2 separate regions of the Homo sapiens genome follow, and region 2 is linked to region 1. Evidence: promoter capture Hi-C in human tissues and cell types (Jung and others, 2019). All regions are on one chromosome and are shown on one strand. Each heading gives the region's core, a stretch centred on a gene start or on the middle of the fragment in contact. The rest is flanking DNA. Distances are from core to core; before and after follow the strand shown. Region 1 holds the start of TSKU (tsukushi, small leucine rich proteoglycan). Region 2 overlaps B3GNT6 (UDP-GlcNAc:betaGal beta-1,3-N-acetylglucosaminyltransferase 6).

Region 1 (6,196 bases), core at 1,006-3,505:
CCTCCAGCCCAGCTGGCTAGAACCTGCACACACAGTGCAGTGGGAGTTAGCTTCCCTGAGTTCCCGGGCAGTTGGGTATTTTCATCTCCAGTTCTCAGATGCTGAACTTGAGACTCGCTAAACAATTCCACATGGAGGAGAGGATGGAAATCGTTAGTCTAGGGCAAGGGGAGGGGGGCGCCATTCCTTCAAAAGAATGTCCCTATGGGAGGGGAGGAAGCAGGAGGAATATAAGCTAGACAAGCCAGGGAGTCCAGAGGTCATTCCCGGGCACCCTCCCCTCCCAAGCCTGCTGGGCTTTCCAGTCTCTACCCCAGTCCCTGACGGAAGACATTTAGCAACCACACAAAGGAGCTTCCTGTGAGCCAGACTAATGCTTTACCTAAATTACCTTGTTTATTCCTCACAATAGCCTCTTCTACAGTTGCAGACACTGAGTCTCAGAGAGGTTAGGTAACTTGCCTAAAGTTACCCAGAGCTGGTAAGTGGCAGGGCTGGAACCTGAATCCTGACCAAGCTTGGCCCTCACCCGATGCTGATTGCAGGTCTCTCTCCCATCTAGGCCAGGAGCCTTTAGAGAGGGGAGGGAATGGGAGGGTGGGAAATGGGAGGGGCCCGACTCCTCTCTATGGGTCCCAGGGGTTGTGGAGTTGAATCCCTGCAGCCCTTTTAAGCCCAACAGTGAGGAAGACACTGGATACCAAAGGGCCCATGGTGCCATCCCAAAGACTGATAAGGAGTGTGAGCTGGATGATCACAGAAGGACTCCTAGTTCTGAAAGCTGGGATTCTAATCAGGAGAGGACAATGAATGGAGAGGAGAGACGGGAGTTCTCCCTGCTTCCACACATATGAGACCAGGCTCCTAGCCTTTTCTCTGCACATTCCTAACTGGCAGGGTCCACAGGTGTCAACCCAAGTGCATCCCCAAGACCACACAATGGCTCTGAGTGCAGAAAGGACCTGCAAGACCAGTTTGTTTTCTGGGCAGCAGATGATTTTGCTGGCCTGAGGCCTGGGGCAGTGGTCTCCACTCCTACCTCACCACCTCTCTAGTGTCTTCCTTCTTCCCCAAGTAGACCGGCATGCATGCACACACAGGCCCAAGCAACTCCTTTTTTTTTTTTTTTTTTTAATGAATAAGAAAAAGTAATAAGGAAAGAAGCAGCAAGCAGACTGGGTGTGTTAACAAGTCTGGGCCACTGCAGGAGGTACATTGCCCAATTTCTGCACCCCGAGGCCCTCCAAAGTCTAGGAGAAGCTCCTGGGAGGTCCAGGGCCCAAGACCAAAGCCTCTATCAACTCTCCCACCTGTGAACTGCCCCTCTCCCAAGGTAGGCATTGTCGGGGTGTGTAGACTGGGAGCCACCCACACACCTGACTCTCCCCTCCTAGGAAATGCGTCCACCAGGTCATTTCTCCTGCAAACCCTCATTTTAAAGTGTCTTGGATGCTTTCCTGCCCTTTTTTTTTTTTTTTAACATAAAGAGGGGTGAGAGCCCAAGAGCTACAGCAGGGGGAATAGACTGAAACTGCTGCCTACTCACACGCCAGTTTCCCTTCTTAGAACTCTAACCAGAAGCCAATGGTTTCCTCCTAAAAGAAAAACTCAATCTGTTGACTTTCTCTCTCCTCTCCTGCCAGCTTTTCTGCCCGAGCCGGGCTCTCTCTTCTCTGTGGGTTCGTCTTTCAGCCAGTCTTTCTCTGCTTCAGATTCTTGGTTTCTTGCTCCCGGTAGTCCCTGAACCTCTTTCACTCTTTAAAAAAAAATGGGGAGGGGCGGTGAACAAGCAAAGAGGAAGCCCTCACCCACCCACCAAATCTCTTTCTTACTAGCAACTAATTCCCTCTCTCTTTCCACACACACAGTCATACACACACATACACATACACAGGCACGTACTCCGGCGACCTCCAGATGTTCCCGACAGTGCGGCCATCTGCTTAGATTGCTGGGGCGCGCAGGGGGAGGGGGCAGGGATCCGGGATGCAGGAAGCTGTGAGCGAGGCCAACTAGAGGGGGCGGGAGCAGCGCACTTTTGAGACGCTCCCTAGAGTGGAACCCGGGCTCGGCTCAGGCTCCGCGGGCGGGGCGCGCGCCGAGAGAGGCTGGCACTTTGGCGACACTCCCTGAGCCGCCCCGCGGCCGGCCCGAGCCGCCACCCGGCGCCCGGCAGGGGGGAGCCTGGCTGCGGGCGGGGACCGGGGGGCGGGCCGCGCCGCGCGGAGAAAAGCGCTGGCCGGAGGGCCCGCGGCCGGGCCGCCGGGGTGAGCGTGCCGAGGCGGCTGTGGCGCAGGCTTCCAGGTGAGTGCAGTTCCCCGGGCGGGGCGAGAGTCCGCGCTGCGGTTGAAGATCCCAAGTCCCCGATCCTAGCCTCGCGGCCCCTTCGGAGGGCGGGCTGGGGACGCCGGGCGCAGGGGCGGGGCTGGGTCCCGCCGAGGCCCCTCAACTTTCGTCGGACGCCTAGGGCTGGGCGGGAGTGGGGAACGCCGACCCAGGGGAGAGGTCTTGCGGGAGACAAAGGCTACGCCCAGGGGCCGTGTGGGTCTTTGTGCGGACACGTGCATCTCACGTTTGTGGGTCTTTGTGGATTTGCGGTCGGGGACGCGCCGCTGTCGGTGCCTTTGTGTGTCCGTGGCTTTGCGCGGCTGCTTTGCGCCCGTGTCCACGTTTGCGGGCCTGCGCTTGGCTGTGGGCGTCGGTGGGCGCATCGCGTGTCTCCGCGTACGTGGTCGGTGCCTGCCGACGTGTCTGGGCTGGGTGTCCGCAGAGGGTGTGCGCACCGAGAGCCCAACGCCGCCCCACCCCCCCGCTCCCCCGCCGTCCCCTCGGGCCCACGACTTGGCTCCAAACTTTTCTCCCGGTTCCTCGGGCAACAGCCCCAGTCCTCCCCACCGCTACCCGGCCGGGGGCGCAGACAGCCCTCCCCCTCCCCCTCCTGAGGTCCCAGGACAGCAAGGGGCTGCGACGGGATTGGTGGTCGGGGGATCGGCAGCGCCTGGGGACTGGCTGGGCAGGGGCTGGGCGGAGCGTGCGGACTCCCCCTCAGACCCCGGCTGGGAGGAAGAGGCGAGCGGTGGGTCCCAGGCTCCGGCCCTGGGCTGGGGAGAGGAAGGGACAGGGCGGCTGGCGTTGCCCTCCCCGCGCTTCTTGGAAAGAGTGTGATCCAGAGTTGCGTCTGTTTGGTAGGGAGACAGGCTCCGCTTTGAGACCCACTCTCCGTTTGCAGCCCGCCCCCGGGGTAGGGGGCCAACCCTCGGACCCGGTAGGGGAGAGGGGGACTGCCAGTCCAGATCTGGGCATGCCCGAGGCGCCGGCTCACAGGACCCGGAGCTGGGCTGGGGGCCGTGGGAGCCTCACATACACAGGTTTCAACTGGGACGGCCACTGGCCCCTGTGCGGCGCTGGCAAGTTGCTCAGCTTCGCGGAGTCGCGGTCACTCTGGCACGGACAGGGCGAGAACTCCCTCGCGGCTCGGGGCGTGCGGTGGGAATAACCCGCGCCTCTGGAGCCGGGCGGAGAGCAGCGCCAGCCCACACTTGGCCTGGCGAGGAGGTGACTCAAGACCTTCGATTCTTCTTTCATCTTTGTGCGCCCTGCCCTTCGGATAAGTCTAGACTTGCAGTGCCTGGGGCTGACCGGAGGTGGGGGGGGGGGGGTGCTCAGAGCTGCAGGAGCCTGCTGGGCTTTTGAGCCTAAGTCGCAAAGATAACCGTAAACACCCTCCTCCCCACTGCTCACTCCAGTCTTTAACCTAGAACTTTGTCGGATGCTGCAGACATGATGGAAGGGCACAGGCCGCTAACCTGGGAAAGAAACAACTGTGGGCATTTTCCTTTCCCTCTCCGGCCTCAGTTTCCCTTCTGGAAGGGGAGGTATTGATAGCCTCTTCTGTTCTGGCTGACTGCTTCAGATCCCAGAACCCAGAAACACTTTGATGTTTAACCTACACCTCCATTCTGACCTGACCTATTCCGAGGCACTACTTTGCTCCCCAGGAAGGCTGCAATGCAACCGCCACCGGGCTTCCACCTACCCTTCCTCCAACACCAGGAAAGGCAAAAGCTGATAAATGAGTCAAAAATGGAGAGGGAAGGGAGGGGGATTGACCTTTTCTCCTCTTACTTTTTAAATGACAGTTTGTGGTGGTAAAGTCCAGATCAGTCTTCTTCTTAATCATAACTCCTGGGTCAACACAGGGGATGCAGTTAAGAGTTCATGCTTCAGTTTTCAGAGCAAGGCTGGCCTGGGCACTGAGGACACTTCCTAAAGAGGGTTGGGTCCTCCCTGAAAGCCACCTGGCCAAAACAAGTCCTAAGAGGGGTTCTGTGGGAATAACCCGGAGAAGGGGCCTGACAGGAGATTCCTCCTGCTCATGGTTTTGAAGTCAGTGGGTACACAGGGGAGGCAGGAAGAATCTCCCACAAAAGGATCAGCATGTGCAGGACCTGTGCATGAAAACAGCACAGGTGGTCAGCATGGTGGACCAGCAGACGCAAGGTCTTGAGGGTGGTGAATTGGAAGTGAACTTGAGGCTGGGAAGGCAGGGACCAAATCACCAAGGCCTTGAATGTCAGGCCGAGAAGGGGGATTTGAGCCTGTAGGCAATGGAGAGCTCCTGGAGGATTTAAACAGGCACAGCAGGGTGCGGTTGGTAATTCTATGAAACCCGTCTCTGGCTTGTGGGTGGTGCTGGAGGCCGAGAGACCAATCTGGAGGGCGAGTGATCCAGCCTCTTAGAGTCAAAGGGACCCAGATTTTACTCCCACCCCATTGCTTCCTACCTCTGTGGCCTGGGACAAGTAACTTATTTAAAATGTGAGGATACTAATTCTTGCTCCACTGATTTGGTGTATTAAATAAGATAATGAATTACATGTGCAAATAAATAAAAAGTGGTTTGTAGTGTGTATTACATTGTGCAGACATTCATTGGATTGCACTGACAATAGAAGGCAGAGACAGCATTGACTCTGGTCCTAAACCTGATCTCACCAGCGGGCAGAGCCCTAAGCATCCTGCAGGGTTGCACCAATTGTTATGTTCCCCACAAAGCAGAAGGGAGCTTTCTGTCCATGACATTTCATTCATCTGATTTATCACCTTCATGTGGCCAGGCTCGTGCAGGCAAGGAGGTAGACACAGATTCGTAGATGGCCACAGAAGTGGGCCAGTACCTTGTCGGGGGCAGCCCAAGGGCCATGGGCGCTCACAGGATGGGTGGCCTTTCCTGGATGAGCGGCAGGTTAGACTGGGAAAGCCTCACAGAGGAGGTGGCTTTTTGAATGAAATGTGTGAGAGTTTGCTGGTAGACAAAGAAGGGTATCTTTGCATCAGAGGGAACAACGTGTGCAAAAAGGCAGGTGGCTCTAGAAGAGTCACAGGCCTCTAGACTAGAAAGCTGTCTCTGTGGGATGGGTTTTAAAGAGGGAGCTGTAGTAGGGTCCCAGACTTCTGTTGGGAAGTGCGTTCTGGTGCCAGCATGGCTGGCAGTTGGAGTCAGGCCAGGAGCGAGGCTGTTGCAGCAGGTCTCTTGAGCCTGACCTGGACAGGGGGAGGTGACTGCCCAGCTTAGGGATGAGGGAAAGGGAAGACAGTGACCCCAACTGCCCAGGGGGATCTGCGAATTTGATGCTGAGCCCTCATTCTGTCACAGGCAACACAGCAGCTTTTGCCTGCTTTGGTCTCTGAGACCTTTCCAGCTCACCCTTCCCAGTCTCCTGGGAGTGCCTTGTCAGCATCTTGTAGCCACACTGGGATCCTGGATGGTATGTGGAGAGAGGATCCAAGGCCTCTGGGATGAATTGTGGATTCTTCTCCATCTTCAGCCCCTGCCTTCCCTCAGGATTTGCTGGTGTCACAGCACCTTTTTCTTCCCTGGTCCCTGAAATCACTCACTGGGGACAGGAACCAACATTCAGTGAATACCAACATGTGCCAGGCCAGGTCTGGGTCTTCACTTTGCCTCATGTAATCATCACAGTGACCCGTTAGGACCAGCACTGGGATTATCACCATATTACAGACGAGGACTCAGAGGGGTGAGGGCACGAGCAAGCCTCAGAGCAGTGAAGGCCCTGTTGGGTTGGAACCCAGACTGCCTGGCTACAAAACCCTTGCCCTCTGCCCCATAGCGCCTCCTCATGTGTCCATGTACGCTGCCTCAGGTTGATGGGAACTTGAAAATCTTCAAGAA
Region 2 (6,482 bases), core at 3,539-6,038, 260 kb after region 1:
GCACAGTGGCTCATGCCTGTAATCCCAGCACTTTTCGGGGCTGAGGTGGGAGGATCACTTGAACCCAGGAGTTCAAGACCAGACTGGGCAATATAGTGGGAACCCGTCTCTACAGAAAAAAAAAAAAAAAAAAATTTAATGACCCAGGTGTGGTGGCACGCTCCTGTAGAGCGCCTCAACTACTCCAAAAGCTGAAGTGGGAGGACTGCTTGAGCCTAGGTGGTCAAGACTGCAGTGAGTCATGATGGTGTCACTGCACTCCAGCCTGGGTGACACAGCAAGACCCTGTCTCAAATAAATAAATAGCCAACGGTCTGAGATGCAGAACCTGATGTGACTGAATTTTTAGCAGGGCACAGTTAAATACGGGAAAGGTTGTTCTGACCTGGGATTCGTCCTGGGGGTCTTCATAAAAGCCAGGCCTGAGGTGCACCTGGGCAGGCTACATGCAGGAGAGGGCCTGAAGGTGAATGTTTGGGAACAGCAAATAATACCAGCAGGTAGAATGAGGAGGCAGAGCTAGAGGATGCCGTGGAGATCATCTCACCCATAAGGTCATATCACCCGTGTCACCCAGTCACTGGCCACTTCATACTCATTTCATGCTCACAACAGCCCTGCAGTAGGAATTCACTAACCCTTCGTCACAGATGAGAACACTCAGACCCAGCCATCGGAACTGACTGTTCAGACGGTGCAGATGGGGAAGTGGGGATGGCAGAATTCGGCTCTGGGTCTGAGTTCAGTGCTATCACCTCATGCTTCCTCGACTCGGGAGGCAACGAGGGGAAGTGATTAGAGATGATCCGAGCTGGACAGAGGCGGAGAGGAGGGAATAAATGAGAGGGATGTAGGGCGCAGAATCAACAGGATGCGGAGAGCAGGTAGCAGCTGAGAAGGACAAGGAAGAAGGCTGGGGCTTCTGGCTGGAGTAGTCAGGTGAACGGAGGTGGGAACAGCAGGGTATGGGTTCAGGGGAAGATGGAGACTCAGACGATGAGTCCACTGGGCCTATGTGACGGGTTGTGGGGCGGTGTTGTCAGGAGGCAAAGAGAGACTCAAATCTGAAGGTCAGAGGAACGGTCCGGAGTGTGGGAGACCAGAGACCGTCAGTGTAATCTTGGATTTTGATTCCTTTTTACCACTTAACAGCAGAGTTGAGAAGGGGCTGGAGCTGGGTTCTGGGAGAGAAGTGACGGGGTACGGGTGGTGTCCTGCCGGTGTCAAAGACGACTTCCGGCTCACCTCTGACTCGGTTTCCCCCACAGATGGCTTTTCCCTGCCGCAGGTCCCTGACTGCCAAGACTCTGGCCTGCCTCCTGGTGGGCGTGAGTTTCTTAGCACTGCAGCAGTGGTTCCTCCAGGCGCCAAGGTCCCCGCGGGAGGAGAGGTCCCCGCAGGAGGAGACGCCAGAGGGTCCCACCGACGCTCCCGCGGCTGACGAGCCGCCCTCGGAGCTCGTCCCCGGGCCCCCGTGCGTGGCGAACGCCTCGGCGAACGCCACGGCCGACTTCGAGCAGCTGCCCGCGCGCATCCAGGACTTCCTGCGGTACCGCCACTGCCGCCACTTCCCGCTGCTTTGGGACGCACCGGCCAAGTGCGCCGGCGGCCGAGGCGTGTTCCTGCTCCTGGCGGTGAAGTCGGCGCCTGAGCACTACGAGCGACGCGAGCTCATCCGGCGCACGTGGGGGCAAGAGCGCAGCTACGGCGGGCGGCCAGTGCGCCGCCTCTTTCTATTGGGCACCCCGGGCCCCGAGGACGAGGCGCGCGCGGAGCGGCTGGCGGAGCTGGTGGCGCTGGAGGCGCGCGAGCACGGCGACGTGCTGCAGTGGGCCTTCGCGGACACCTTCCTCAACCTCACGCTCAAGCACCTGCACTTGCTCGACTGGCTGGCTGCACGCTGCCCGCACGCGCGCTTTCTGCTCAGCGGCGACGACGACGTGTTCGTGCACACCGCCAACGTAGTCCGCTTCCTGCAGGCGCAGCCACCCGGCCGCCACCTGTTCTCCGGCCAGCTCATGGAGGGCTCCGTGCCCATCCGCGACAGCTGGAGCAAGTACTTCGTGCCGCCGCAGCTCTTCCCCGGGTCCGCTTACCCGGTGTACTGCAGCGGCGGCGGCTTCCTCCTGTCCGGCCCCACGGCCCGGGCCCTGCGCGCGGCCGCCCGCCACACCCCGCTCTTCCCCATCGACGACGCCTACATGGGCATGTGTCTGGAGCGCGCCGGCCTGGCGCCCAGCGGCCACGAGGGCATCCGACCCTTCGGCGTGCAGCTGCCTGGCGCACAGCAGTCCTCCTTCGACCCCTGCATGTACCGCGAGTTGCTGCTAGTGCACCGCTTCGCGCCCTACGAGATGCTGCTCATGTGGAAGGCGCTGCACAGCCCCGCGCTCAGCTGTGACCGGGGACACCGGGTCTCCTGAGGCCAGTTGGGCGGCTTCAGCCCCGGGCCTCCAACCATGTCCATGCTGAGAAGGCAGCTTTCCCGCTCTGGGTACCTTACGTCCTGCCCAGCTCTGTGCACCTGAACCCCAGCTGCGCACTGAAATCAGCTGGGGTGGGGGGTGTGGAAAATGCCTACATCCTGGCTCCATCTCCCGAAGTTTCGATTTGATTAGTCTGGGGTGGACCCAGACATGTTAAGTATTTTTTAAGTTCCTCCAGTGATGCGAATGTGCAGCTAGGCCTGAGGACCACTCGGCTAGACTATCTCTTCATCCTCGCAAAGCCAGCTCCACCGCCCTCTCTGCAAGAATTCCGGGCCCCTCGCTCCCACACTCGGGTCCTCTTGAGCAGTGGAGCAAGGGAGACCTGGGAGCGTGGGAGCCAGGATCAGCGCCCCCTGCCATGTGCCTACAAATGTCAGTTGTGATTTCCACTGTTTACAAGTGAGTGGAGCTGGAGCTGGGCTGACAGTATCAGGTGGATCCCGCTTCCCCCTCCCCCAAGAAGTCAGCCAACACGCAGCTGAGGCGCATGTGGTGGCCTTCTTCCCACCACTACCCCAGTACACCGTGAGGTAGAAATCTTCACCGTGCAAAGTGGAAACCAGAGGCCCGGTCAGACAGTGACTAATCCAGGGCCGTGGCATTCCCAGACAGCACACCACTGTGGTCCCCTCCACACTCACCCCAACCAAAGCTAATGGCCTAGTTGGGTCCTGCCCGCCAATAATCACCCCCACGGGTCAGAGACAGGCTCCTTGCCGGGGTCTGGGCCTCAGGCTCAGTGGGCCTTGGACAACCCAGCAGGGAGTTCCGGGGAGTCCGAAGTGGAGAAAGGCTGGTGGGAACATGGAGGCCAGTGTTGGGGAGCCTGTGGAGGCAGGTGTGTAGAATTGTGTTCGGGAGGTGGGGGATCTGAGACCGAAGTGGACAGTGGTTAAGATTGTGGGGCCGGGCGAGGTGGCTCACGCCTGTAATCCCAGCACTTTGGGAGGCTGAGGAGGTCGGATCATGAGGTCAAGAGTTCGAGACCAGCCTGGCCAATATGGTGAAACCCCGTCTCTATTGGGAGTACAAAAATTAGCCGGCCATAGTGGCTCGTGCCTGTAATCTCAGCTATTTGGGAGGCTGAGGCAGGAGAATCACTTGAACCTGGGAGGCGGAGGTTGCAGTGAGCCGAGATCGTGCCACTGCACTCCAGCCTGGGCGACAGAGCAAGACTGCATCTCAAAAAAAAAAAAAAAAAGGAGAGTTTGCAAGGGTGGGTGGGAACTTGGTGCCTGGGGCTCTGAGAACCAGGCTGTGGTCCTGACCTCCAGCAGCTGCCAGTCATCTTGGCAACATAGAAAATCAAGGAAACGGCCTAAAGGCAGGCAGAAGTGTGTGTCAGCAAGGTCCCAACTATGTAAGATGGACACGAGGGACTCACCTTCAGGGAGGAAAGAGCCGGGGCAGAACGTCAGGAGACTGGCCAAAGGTCCTTCCCTGCCTTCAGGACGAAGACTAGACTCCTCAGTCCTGCATTTCAGGCTCCTGCCACCCGCCTGCTGCTCACTGATCCCTCCCTCCCACTGTCAGCCTCCATCCAGGTGGCAGTGCCTGCGCTTTGTCAGGCTCTCTCTTGTCTCTGCATTTTGCACAAGCTCTGACCTAGTTACCGAAATGTCCTCCAACCACCTCCATCCTGCATGTCTCTTGCACCAGTTAGGACGCCTGTCGGGGAAGCTGCCAGCTGCCCACCTGAGTCGGCTGTTCCCTTCCTCCTGGGCACTCACCTAGACTCCATTTCCCAGCACTCCGTCCCCTGAAGTTAGATGTGGCCCTGTGACTAGGCCCTCATGGATGGACGGGAGTGGATGAGGATCACTGTGGCACCTGGGCCTGCTTATGCTCTCTTCCTCCTTCCCATTCGCTGGAACATGGATGGGCCTGGGACCCAGCTCTGACTTTGCAAGTGAGGACAATGCTTCAGGCCCAAGTGGAAGTTTCTCAACTACTGACATTTGGGGCAGGACGGTTCTTTGTTGTGGGGGGCAGTCCCGTGCATTGTAAAACATTCAGCAGCATCCATGTCCTCCACTCACTAGATACCAGTATCACAGCCCAAGTCATGACACCCAAAGTATCTCCAGACGTTGCCAAACATACCCTGGTGGGAAAATTCACCCTAGCAGAGAACCGCTGGCCTAGAGGAAGGCAGAGAAACGAGGATTCCTGAGTTCCTGCACGGAGCAGAGCAGCCCGGGGACCAACCTGGAATACTCAGTTCAGACTACTGAGGAAGACAAAATAAACTTTTATGCTTTTAAAAAAAATTATGGACAGAACAATATAGACAAAAACTTTTATGATTTTTCAGCTTCTGGGGTTTGTCTACTGTTACAGCAGCCTTGCCCTGCTAGTGTTTTAGTCTGTTCAGGCTGCTGTAACAAAAATACCATAAACTGGGTGTCTTACAAACATTTCTGAAAGTTCTGGAGGCTGGGAAGTCTAAGGTCAAGGTCCCAGCAGGTTTGGTGTCTGGCGAGGGCCCATTCCTCACTGCCTTCTTGCTGTGTCACTGCATGGTGGGAGGGGCAAGCAAGCTCCCACGGCCTCTTTTACAGCGGCCCAGATTCCATTGGTGAGGGTTCTGCCATCATCACATCATCACCACGTCACCTTCAGGGCTAGGATTTCAACGTAAGAATTCCGGGGGGCCGGGTGTGGTGACTCACGCCTGTAATCCCAGCACTTTGGGAGGCTGAGGCGGGCAGATCACGAGGTCAGGAGATAGAGACCATCCTGGCTAACACAGTGAAACCCCGTCTCTACTAAAAATACAAAAAAATTAACCGGGCATGGTGGCAGGCACCTGTAGTCCCAGCTACTCGGGAGGCTGAGGCAGGAGAATGGCGTGAACCTGGGAGGCGGAGCTTCCAGTGAGCCAAGATCACGCCACTGCACTCCAGCCTGGGCGACAGAGCAAGACTCTGTCTCAAAAAAAAAAAAAAAAAAAAGAATTCCGGGGAAACATAAACATTCCAACCATAGCACTTAAGTCACCTGCTGTGTCCCCTTTCATCCCTTGTTTTTCACCAAGTAGACTGGCTGCTCCCAGAGGGAGAGGCCATGTCTGATTTACATCAGGGCTGTCACAGATTTACACAGAGGGAATCCGTGGCAAGTCCCATCACTCCCACTCCTGGAACTTGAGTAGGTCATCTCACCTCTCTGAGCCGCTCTTTCTGATAAGATTTGGCTCTGTTTCCCCACCCAAATCTCATCTTGAATTGTAATTCCCACATGTCAGGGGAGGGACACGTAGGACTGGACAGGCGGGAGGTGATTGGATCACGGGGTCGGATTCCCTCACGTTCTTGTCGTGATAGTGAGTTCTCGCGAGAGGTGATGGTTTTAAAGCGCGGCACTTCCTCATTCTCGCACACACGCCCTCCTGCTGCCCATGAAGAAGGTGTCTGCTTTCCCTTCGCCTTCCGCCATGATTGTAAGTTTCCTGAGGCCTCCTAGCCATGCTTCCTGTTAAATCTGCAGAACTGTGAGTCAATTAAACCTCTTTCTTTTATAATTACACAGTCTCAGGTAGTATTCTTTATAGGAGTGTGAAAATGGACTAATACACTTTCCACAGTGATGTTCCATGCCAGGGCCATGTAAATCCTCTGTAAACCACATAGGAGGGTACTGTCATTCTGCAGGCTTACTGGCAGCTCTGAGAGGTTGAAGGAAGCAGGAGGAGGTGGCACTTCTGTGACCTTTCTGCAGCCCTTGCCGTGGGCCTTCAGTAGCCACAGCCACTTGTCACTTGCTGATCTATTTTCTGAGCAGGCCATAACAAATACTCCTACATGCTTTTGGGGTGAATGGATGAGTGGATGAGTGCCATCTGTCCCAGTGATGTGGACTGTATCTGTTAGGACAGCAGTCCCCAACCTTTTTGGCACCAAGGACTGGTTTTGTGGAAGACAATATTTCCACAGACCAACGTGGGGGATGGTTTGGGGAAGATTCAAGTGCATTACATTTATTGTGCACTTT

The links. The method cuts DNA at HindIII sites, captures the fragments that hold promoters and counts their contacts. A contact is called where the count stands out against the background at its distance.
Region 2: a fragment that was not itself captured here is called in contact with the fragment with the promoter of TSKU in region 1 in 1 of the 25 tissues and cell types used here (bladder).

The regions. Positions count from the first base shown.
Region 1 is chr11:76,781,101-76,787,296 of GRCh38, forward strand. TSKU (tsukushi, small leucine rich proteoglycan) reads left to right here and starts at 2,256. Exons shown (of 2, transcript NM_015516.4): 1 at 2,256-2,304. TSKU-AS1 (TSKU antisense RNA 1) reads right to left here and starts at 1,962. Exons shown (of 2, transcript NR_120562.1): 1 at 1,903-1,962; 2 at 1,481-1,756. RefSeq lists enhancers at 1,493-1,682, 1,917-2,561, 4,949-5,871 and a silencer at 2,113-2,202. The HindIII fragment of the contact is 14,629 bases long and covers 1-6,196 here.
Region 2 is chr11:77,038,284-77,044,765 of GRCh38, forward strand. It overlaps B3GNT6 (UDP-GlcNAc:betaGal beta-1,3-N-acetylglucosaminyltransferase 6), which reads left to right. Exons shown (of 2, transcript NM_138706.5): 2 at 1,269-3,690. The coding sequence starts at 1,269. The coding sequence ends at 2,423. Among named protein-coding and RNA genes, the nearest start is that of ACER3-AS1, 5.8 kb to the left of the region's middle. The HindIII fragment of the contact is 4,138 bases long and covers 2,720-6,482 here.